Regions from separate parts of the Homo sapiens genome. Here region 1 is linked to region 2. Evidence: promoter capture Hi-C in human tissues and cell types (Jung and others, 2019). All regions are on one chromosome and are shown on one strand. Each heading gives the region's core, a stretch centred on a gene start or on the middle of the fragment in contact. The rest is flanking DNA. Distances are from core to core; before and after follow the strand shown.

Region 1 (4,788 bases), core at 2,046-4,545, 350 kb after region 2:
ATATAAGCAAGGACAGTCTTTTTTCTTTTTTTTTTGAGGCGGAGTTTTGCTCTGTCGCCGAGGCTAGAGTGCAGTGGCTCGATCTCGGCTCACTGCAACCTCCGCCTCCTGGGTTCAAGCGATTCTCCTGCCTCAGCCTCCCGAGTAGCTGGGACTACAGGCGCGCACCACCACGCCCAACTAATTTTTGTAATTTTAGTAGAGACGGGGTTTCACCATGTTGGCCAGGATGGTCTCAATCTCTTGACCTCATGATCCTCCCGCCTTGGCATCCTAAAGTGTTGGGATTATAGGCGTAAGCCACCATGTCCAGCCAACAAGGACAGTCTTCTTAGCTCACTTACCTGATTAGTAATGTCGTAAACCACGATTGCAGCTTGGGCACCCCTGTAGTACATGGGGGCTAAGCTGTGATATCGCTCCTGCCCAGCTGTGTCCCAGATCTCAAACTTCACTGTTGTGTCATCTAGACAAACGGACTGGGTGAGGAAGGCCGCTATGGATGAGAGAATGGAGGGGAAGATGCTGTAAGTGGGAGGATGAATGGGAACATCCCTCCCCCCCTTCAAAATGTAACTGCCCTACACTAAGACCAGTCACCACCCAGGATAGTCAGCTACAGGAAAAGGTTTTGAGTTCTCCTTACATGTAAGTCTTGAAACCAGGATTAAGACTGCCCTTGGCTAAGTCCTTCCTGCCAGAAATGTCACTAGCTAAGGAATGGGGGTACATCATAAACTAAGAGGGACAGAAGAACTGGCACTTATACGAGTCATCCTTCTTCTAACCAAAATAGGAGAATAACAAATGACAGAGAAAATAGCTTCAGATAAAAGTCACATCAAGAATTAATTAGAAGATTGGGCTGGGCACGGTAGCTCACGCCTGTAATCCCAGCACTTTGGGAGGTGGGGGCTGAGGCAGGTGGATCACCTGAGGTCAGGAGTTCGAGACCAGTCTGGCCAACACGGCAAAACCCGTCTCTACTAAAAATACAAAAATTAGCCAGGCGTGGTGGTGGACACCTGTAATCACAGCTACTCGGGAGGCTGAGGCTGGAGAATCCCTTGAACTTGGGAGGTGGAGGTTGCAGTGAGCCAAGATGGCGCCACTGCACTTCAGCCTGGGCAACAAGAGCGGAACTCCGTCTCAAAAAACAAACAAACAAACGCAAACAAACAAAAGAATTAATTAGAGGATTGGCTGGGCGCAGTGGCTCATGCCTGTAATCCCAGCACTTTGGGAGGCCAAGGCAGGTGGATGGCTTGAGGTCAGGAGTTCGAGACCAGCCTGGCCAACATAGTGAAACCCCGCCTCTACTAAAAACACAAAAGTTAACCAGGCATGGTGATGGACGCCTGTAATTCCAGCTACTTGGGAGGCTGAGGCAGCAGAAGTGCTTGAACTGGGGAAGCGGAAGTTGCAATGGGCAACCACTGCACCACTGCACTCCAGCCTGGGCAACAGGGTGAGACTCAGTATCCAAAAAAAAAAAAAAAAAAAAAAAGAATTAATTAGAAGATTTTAAAGCTTGATGGCAAGTCCCATCATTATCAATATTATTTGGCTGTTACTTTTTCATATAATCTGCTGCAGGTCCAGGAATACATTTCCAAGATGACTAATAAAAAGGGGAAAGAGGCCAGGCACGGTGGCTCATGCTTGTAATCCCAGCACTTTGGGAGGCCGAGGCGGGTGGATCACTTGAAGTCAGGAGTTTGAGACCAGCCTGGCCAACACGGTGAAACCCTGTCTCTATACAAATACAAAAATTAGCCGGGCATGGTGGTATGTGCCTGTAATCTCCGCTGCTCAGGAGGCTGAGGCACGAGAATCACTTGAACCTGGGAGGCAGAAGTTGCAATGAGCCAAGATTGCACCACTGCACTCCAGTCTGGGCGACAGAGACTCCGTCTCAAAAATAAATAAATAAATAAATAAAAATAACAAGGGGAAGGAATAATTTGGAAGTTCTCATAAAAGATCCTTTATTGAATTAGCACCCTATTTTGGGGTAGTAGTGGGGAAAAGGTAGCAAAGATGAGAAAGACAGACACCCTTTGTATTTTGCATTAGTTCCAGCCTCTATTTTACCAGATTTTTTTTTGTTTTTGAAACAGTCTCGCTCCTTCGCCTAGGATAAAATGCACTGGCGTGATTTTGGCTCACTGCAACCTCCGCCTCATGAGTTCAAGCGAGTCTCCTGCCTCAGCTTCCCAAGTAGCTGGGATTACAGGCATGTGCCACCATGCCCGGCTAATCTTTGTTGTTGTTGTTGTTGTTTTGTTTTTTTGAGACGGATTTTCACTCTAGTCACCCAGGCTGGAGTGCAATGGCGCAATCTTGGCTCACTGCAACCTCCATCTCCTGGGTTCAAGTAGTTCTCCTACCTCAGCCTCCTGAGTAGCTGGAATTATAGGCATGTGCCACCACGCCCAGCTAATTTTTTGTATTTTTAGTAGAGACGGGGATTTCACCTTGTTGGCCAGGCTGGTCTTGAACTCCTGGCCTCAAGTGATCCGCCTGCCTTGGCCTCCCAAATGCTGGGATTACAGGTGTGACCCACCATGCCCAGCCTATTTTACCAGATTTTGATTTTTTTTTTTTTTTGGAGATGGAGTTTTGCTCTTGTCGCCCAGGGTGGAGTGCAGTGGCGCAATCTCGGCTCACTACAACCTCTGCCCCCTGGGTTCAAGTGATTCTCCTGCCTTAGCCTCCCGAGTAGCTGGGATTACAGGCGCCTGCCACCACGCCTGGCTAATTTTTTGTATTTTTAGTAGAGACAGGATTTCGCCATGTTGGGCAGGCTGGTCTCGAACTCCTGACCTCAGGTGATCCGCCCATCTTGGCCTCCCAAAGTGGTGGGCCACTGGGACCGGCCTCTGTTTTTATAAAGGGTTTCCATTTCTGGGGAAAAGAATGGGACTAAGAGGGCCAGCTCCATAATCAGGTCTTATATCTCTTTTCAAAAGCCTTACCGGCCCGGCGTGGTGACTCACGCCTGTAATCCCAGCACTTTGGGAGGCCGAGGCAGGCAGATCACCTGAGGTCAGGAGTTTGAGACCAACCTGGCCAACATGATGGTGAAACCCCCTCTCCACTAAAAATACAAAAATTAGACAGGTGCCACGGTGTGCACCTGTAATCCCAGTTACTCGGGAGGCTGAGGCATGAGAATCGCTCGAACCTGGGAGACAGAGGTTGCAGTAAGCCAAGATTGCGCCACTGCACTCCAGCCTGGGTAACAGAGCAAGACTCCATCTAAAAAAAAAAAAACCCTTACCAAACATTCAATCTCCTATTACCCCAAGGCACTCACCTCCAATGGTGCTCTCCTGGTACTCATGGAACTGCCCTTTGACAAAACGTAATACCAGGCTTGACTTTCCCACTGCAGATTCTCCCAGCAGGACCAATTTGAACTGGCAAATTTTGCTGGCCTGGGGTTGCCCATTGGGCCTAGCTGTGCTTCTGCTAGTCATGGCCAGATTATCAGAATGGGAAAGGGTGGAGGGAGGGGGATACTGTAAAGGGGGGAGGGGGAAGGGGAGGGGATTTCCAGGCTTCAACACTCCTGCAAGAAAAAAAAGTGAATAAAATTAAACATACGTCCATTGAAGCTGCAATCGCTTTTCAGAGAAGGATAGAACCTCTTCATCTCCTTGCTTCTATGAGGACTTAGCTCTGAGAAGGTCCCAGGCAGCTGATCCTCAGTGGTAAGAGTTGGGAAGAGCAAAATAAGAACTGCTTCTGGAGTCTGCCCTACCACATAATCTCTAACTGCCAAGGGAGCCGAAATAGAGAGACTGAAAACTGAGAGTTTTTAATTCCCCAGTAATTCCCCACCAGGTCTTCAAAGTTTTTTGTTTGAGTCACACAAAGTGATCAACCTTTAGCTGGCCTGAAGAATATCCAGATCCACCCACCGGTACCCTAGATCCCCAGTATCTCCTTGGCATCCTGGTGCTGTGCTCTTCTTTTCCTTTTCTTCTTTTTTTTTGAGACGTCACTCTTGTTGCCCAGGCTGGAGTGCAATGGCACAATCTTGGCTCACCACAACCTCTGCCTCCCGGGTTCAAGCAATTCTCCCACCTCAGTCTCCCGAGTAGCTGGGATTACAGGCATGCACCACCACGCCTGGCTAATTTTGTATTTTTAGTAGAGACGGAGTTTCTCCATGTTGGTCAGACTAGTCTAAGAAGTCCTGACCTCAGGTGATCTGCCCGCCTTGGCCTTCCAAAGTGCTGATATTACAGGCATGAGCCACCGTGCCTGGCCTTCTTTTCATTTTTCCTTAGCTCTTTGTCAAAATGAGAGATTCACTCTAGGGGTGTGGGATAAGAGTCACCACTCCTAAGGGCAGAAGGGTAGTTGCTGCTGTATCCTTTATATATGACCGGTCTCCCTGATAAGACATTTCTAAAGATCTAACCAGGGTCCCATTGCCACAAAATCTATCCTTTCTCATTTTTGGTTGAAGGTAAAGAGAGAAATACAACCAACAGATCACATTCATTATCAACTCTTTGTTTCATTAACAACTCTTTTTTCACTTTGTTTCTGCCATCTTTCCAAATCTGAAAGTCTATCAAGAATCAGTAAGCTTGACCTACTCTCAACTTGCAGCTGTCTTGCTGGTGCCTAGGGATTAGATTACCCTCCACACCAAAGGGGCCTAACAGCTGTAGCCCTCCAAATTAGAGGCAGAGAAAGGTATACCTTCTAAAGACATGCAGAAGTCTCCAGAGGATGGTATAGGGCGTTAAGTCTGCAAGCAATCAGTATTTG
Region 2 (5,349 bases), core at 1,342-3,841:
TTTAAGGTAGATACTATTACCCTATATTACAGAGGAGGAGGCTGAGGTGCAAAGATAAGCAATTTGCCCAAGATCACAGAGCTTCTAAGTGGCTAGAATTCCTTTTTTTTTTTTTTTTTTTTTGAGATGGAGTTTCGCTCTTGTTGCCCAGGCTGGAGTGCAATGGTGCCATCTCATCTCACCGTAACCTCTGCCTCCCGGGTTCAAGTGATTCTCCTGCCTCAGCCTCCCAAGTAGCTGGGATTACAGGCATGCACCACCATGCCCGGTGGCTAATTTTGTATTTTTAGTAGAAACAGGGTTTCTCCATGTTGGTCAGGCTGGTCTTGAACTCCCAATCTCAGGTGATCCACCCGCCTGCGGCCTCCAAAAGTGCTGGGATTACAGGCATGAGCCACCACACCCAGCTTAAGTGGCTAGAGTTCTAATGCAGACAATCTAGCATCAGATCCTGCATTCTTTTTTGTTCTTGGTTTTTGGGGGGTTTTGTTGAGACAGGGTCTCACTCTGTCACCCAGGCTGGAATGCAGTGGCACCATTTCCGTTCACTGCAACCTCCACCCCTGGGACTACAGGCACAAGCCACCATCCCGGTCTGGATCCTGAATTTTTAATCACTGCATTACACTGGATACTGTACGCCAGGTATGGTGGCTCATGCCTGTAATCCCAGAACTTTGGGGGGCCGAGGCAGGAGGATCGCTTGAGCTTAAGAGTTCAAGACCAGCCTGGGTAACGTGGCAAAACCCCACCTCTACAGGAAAAAAAAAATTATCTGGGTTTGGTGGCCAGTGCCTGTAGTTACAGCTAGTTGGGAGGCTGAAGTGGGAGGATCGCTTGAGCCCAGGAGGTTGAGGCTACAGTGAGTGAGAGGGCCAATGCGCTTAAGCATGGGCAACAGAGTGAGATCCTGTCTCAAAAAAAAAAAAAAAAAAAGGCTGGGCGCGGTGGCTCACACCTGTAATCCCAGAACTTTGGGAGGCCGAGGCAGGCAGATCACCATCTAATATTACTGTATTAGAAACAGTAATTACAGCTGAGCTAAATAATCTATGTCATGGATGCTCTTGTGTCTCCTCACAGTATCCTTTTTTCTTTTCTTTTTTTTTTTCTTTTTTTTGAGACGGAGTTTCGCTCTTACTGACCAGGCTGGAGTGCAATGGTGCCATCTCGGCTCACTGCAACCTCCGCCTCCCAGGTTCAAATGATTCTCCTGCCTCAGCCTCCCAAGTAGCTGGGATTACAGGCTCCCGTCACCAGGCCCGGCTAATTTTGTATTTTTAGTGGAGACGGGGTTTCTCCATATTGGTCAGGTTGGTCTCGAACTCCCGACCTCAGGTGATCCGCCCACCTCGGCCTCCCAAAGTGCTGGGATTACAGGCGTGAGCCACTGCGCCCGGCAGACATGGATTATTTAGCCCAGGTTATTAGGGATCTGTAACTCTCATGGGTCTGTTAAGTCTTTCTCAATTTGAGACCTCAAGATGGAGATTTCTTAAAGTGTAGGAACTGTCTATGTCTCTCAGCATCCACCTTTTTCGGAGATTCTATATCTAATGACCTGCGAAGTCAGATCAAATCAGTTTGAGAGACCATCTGTGTTTTTCTCTTGGTCTAGGCTCTAGGTAGGATCTCTGACTGGGTATAGGACCCCACCCCTCTGAGTCCTAGAAATTTAAATTCTTGGTTCCTTTAATGAAGGTCTATTTACCAGCCTTTATTGAGAGAAATGTTATAGAATTGAATCCTCCATGAGGAATGTCTCCCATCAGAGTCCCTTTATGTGGCCTTTAGAAACAGTAATAACAGCTGAGCTAAAGTGCTCTGAGACATCTCACAACCTAGACCCATTTCAAAGTAATTAGAGTTCACAGGACCCACGAATCCTTCAGAATAACAAGTCCCAATTTGCCATGCTCATCCCCCTCTGAGGGATAACGTCCAGCCAGCCTCAAGAGCTAGGGGAATTTGATAACCAGGGGCATCTTGTTACCCGGGAATGTTACCGGGGTCTCTGGGGAGGGAACAATCACGGATGGGAGTTTCAGATGGATGCCTGTAGAAGATGCAGCCACTTGGACTGTGTCAGGAGTCCGGCTCCCGCTTCCTTTTTTTTCTCTCCCATATCTGGAAATAATAGGAAATGCCAGCGAGTTTTGGGGGCAACAGGGTCAGAGGTGGCGGAGTGGCTCACTAGGGCACCGCAGGAAGAGGAGGTAGACTAAGCCCCGCTGGGAATACCCAACAGCGACTCCTAGTGCTTTGCCTTGTGTGTCCCTTATTTTAGAGTTCCTAAAGTTATAGAAAGCATAAAAGTTTGGTTTTCAAACCTAGACGTAATTTTGTTCAAGAAGACTAAAAACAGAGTTACTTTCTAACGCCACCCAACAAGTCCGGCGTCTGGCTGCGTTTGTCCCACCGGCGCCCCGTAACCTCTTTTTCCGGCGCGTGCGTCACACGCTCTCTCCTGGGGTCGCCGTACCTGGCTCCTTCTGATTGGCTTAGATGCGCCCGGAGCCCTTCTGATTGGCTAAAATATGCCCCGAGCCCTTCTTGATTGGAAGAAGCGCCTCGGACCCCGGTCCTTGGCGCCGTAGTGGTTAGGTTGAGCCCTAGGCGTGGGGGAGAACTGGGGAAACTGGAATTTCCCGCGGAGCTGACAGCGCTTGCGCTCCCCCTACTCGTTCTAATTCCACGCGCTCCAAAATATCCGCCATGGAGAAATCTTGGTAATGACCCATTCCCCGTAAGCATCCCAGGAACACATCTGACCCTTGCCCTATCCCCCTCCTCACCGCTGCCGTGGGAGAATTCTAGATAACCGATTTTTCTGGTTCCCCCAGAGAATTCTGGGTAACTAGCCGTTTCCGTCACCTTCCCCTGCCCCCGCCCCAATTGTGGGTAACTGGCCATTATTGTTTTCCTCTAGAGAATCCTGGGTAGCTATTGGAGAGGATTCTAGGAAACTGACTTCTCGTTCTCCCCACCGTCCAATCCACCCGTTTTCACCCCCAATTCTGGGAGAAAGCACCTTAAATCCCTCTACCTAACTCCAACCCCCGCAATTCTCGCTCCCTTCACCTGATGATTCAGGGCTGAACAAGGCAAGTGAGCAGTCCGAAGTGAGAAGAAAGGGAAGTCAAGGATTAGGTTAGATAATGGGGTGGTGGAGAGTACAGAGGGCCTAGCGGAGGAGGGATAGGGACAACAGTTCTACCACCTCCACCCCCACTGCCCATCCCTCCCCCGCCTGCTTCATCCTTTGGCTGGCAGTCTCATCCCTCATGCCTGCCTCATCTCCCTCCTGCCCCCATAACCTAGAAGACCCTAAGTACCAGTACCTGGGCCTACCCTTGACTCAGCTACCTCTTTCCCCTTACAGGCCAGGATGTCCATTCTAGGCCCATCGGTGCTGTCTTGCTGAAGGTTGGGTCAGGCATCTAAAGGGACTGTGGTAAGGGAGGGTGTGACACAGGTGTAAGCTGCCATCGTCATCATGAACTTTGAGGGTCTGGACCCTGGACTGGCAGAATATGCCCCAGCCATGCATTCTGCCCTGGACCCTGTCTTGGATGCCCACCTGAACCCAAGTCTGCTACAGAATGTGGAGCTGGACCCAGAGGGAGTGGCCTTGGAGGCTCTTCCCGTCCAGGAATCAGTGCACATAATGGAAGGTGTCTACTCTGAATTGCACAGCGTGGTGGCTGAAGTGGGTGTACCTGTTTCCGTCTCCCACTTTGACTTGCACGAGGAGATGCTGTGGGTGGGGAGCCACGGGGTAAGAACTGTACCCCTTTGTGAGGGTTGAAAGATGTTGAAGGTCTTTATCTGGTCTTAACCCAAGGAAGCTGCTTTGCAGATAGCCAGTACCGAGGAGTTGTAGTGATGAGACAGCTGGGTCTGGTTGGAGGGATAAAGGGAGAATCTAGGATCTAGGAGTAAATGACATATTCTTTCTCAGGAGGCATCCCTTTTTTTTTTTTTTTTTTTCGAGACAGGGTCTTGCTCTGTCGCCTAGGCCAGAGTGCAATGGCGTAATGTGATCATGGCTCACTGCAGCCTCAATCTCCTGGGCTCACACAATCCTCCCACTTTAGCATCTCAAGTAGCTGGGACTACAGGCATGCGCAACCAAGACCAGCTAATTTTTAAAAAATTTTTTAGTCTTACTATGTTGCCCAGGCTTGTCTCAAACTCCTGAGCTCAAATGGTCCTCCTGCATAGAGCTGCCAAAGTGCTGGGGTTACAGGTGTGAGCCACGGCACCTGGCCAGCATCCCACTTTTGTCACAATTGCCCATCCAGTGTTTTGATTTATCTTGATAGTTGTACCCATCACTTAGTCTGTAGCCATCCAAATCTAATCTCAATTGCTGTTGCCCCACCTGTGTTTTCTATTTTTATTATTATAGAATATTTAATGAATGATTCTGCATATCTTCCATTGAATCATTTTGTCTTCTCTGGCTGATTTTAATATCTCTCAGAGCAGTTATCAATCTTAATTTTTTAAAATCTGTACCCGTATTGCCAATATGCTATGGTGCCCAAAGACTTTGTAAGAAATACTGTGCTGTCCGGCCGGGACCGGTGGCTCACTCCTGTAATCCCAGCACTTTGGGAGGCTGAGGCAGGCGGATCACGAGGTCAGGAGATCGAGACCATCCTGGCTAACATGGTGAAACCCTGTCTCTACTAAAAATGCAAAAAATTAGCTGGGCATGGTGGCAGGCGCCTGTAGTCCCAGCTACTCGGAAGGCTGAGGCAGGAGAATCGCTTGAACCTGGGAGGCAGAGGTTGCAGTGAGCCGAGATCACGCCACTGCACTCCAGCCTGGGTGACAGAGCGAGACTCCGTCTCAAAAAAAAACAAAAAACAAAAAAAAAAAAAACGCTGTCCTTCATTTACTGATTGACTTCTTTGGTCATGAATTGTTTTTCCATTAGAAGGGATGAATTTTTGTGTGTGATTCATTCAGTTTAATAGGCAGTGTCTACTGCTATGCTAGGCACTGTGAATAAAGCTAAATAAAACATAATCCTTGCCCTCAAGGAGTTTACAGGACAGTGAGGTAAAAAACATATACAAAACCAGATAATTTCATGGTACTAAGCGCCAGTGTGAAAATCTGTACTGGATGCTGGACAGGATGGAGAATAGTCAGAAAGGGCATCGAGGAGGAAGTAACCCTTGAACTGAGTCTTGCAACATGAGTAGAAATCAGGTGAGAAAGATGGGAAAAGGCGTCTTAGCATAGGATAAACAAAGATTCCCAAGATACTACAAAGCTTGCTGAGTACAAAATTCAGGAACTACAAGCAATTAGGATTTACCGGACTGGAAGAGGTAG

Evidence for each region. Contacts are between HindIII fragments. The study calls those that stand out against the background at their distance.
Region 1: a contact is called between a fragment that was not itself captured here and the fragment with the promoter of PAN2 in region 2, in 1 of the 25 tissues and cell types used here (liver).

The regions. Positions count from the first base shown.
Region 1 is chr12:55,985,655-55,990,442 of GRCh38, reverse strand. It overlaps RAB5B (RAB5B, member RAS oncogene family), which reads right to left. Exons shown (of 6, transcript NM_002868.4): 2 at 3,320-3,574; 3 at 345-496. The coding sequence starts at 3,482. Among named protein-coding and RNA genes, the nearest start is that of SUOX, 9.2 kb to the left of the region's middle. The HindIII fragment of the contact is 5,763 bases long and covers 414-4,788 here.
Region 2 is chr12:56,331,242-56,336,590 of GRCh38, reverse strand. PAN2 (poly(A) specific ribonuclease subunit PAN2) reads left to right here and starts at 2,591. Exons shown (of 26, transcript NM_014871.6): 1 at 2,591-2,729; 2 at 3,383-3,778. The coding sequence starts at 3,497. RefSeq lists enhancers at 2,154-2,323, 2,241-2,460, 2,586-2,755 and cis regulatory regions at 2,670, 2,655-2,686. The HindIII fragment of the contact is 7,233 bases long and covers 1-5,349 here.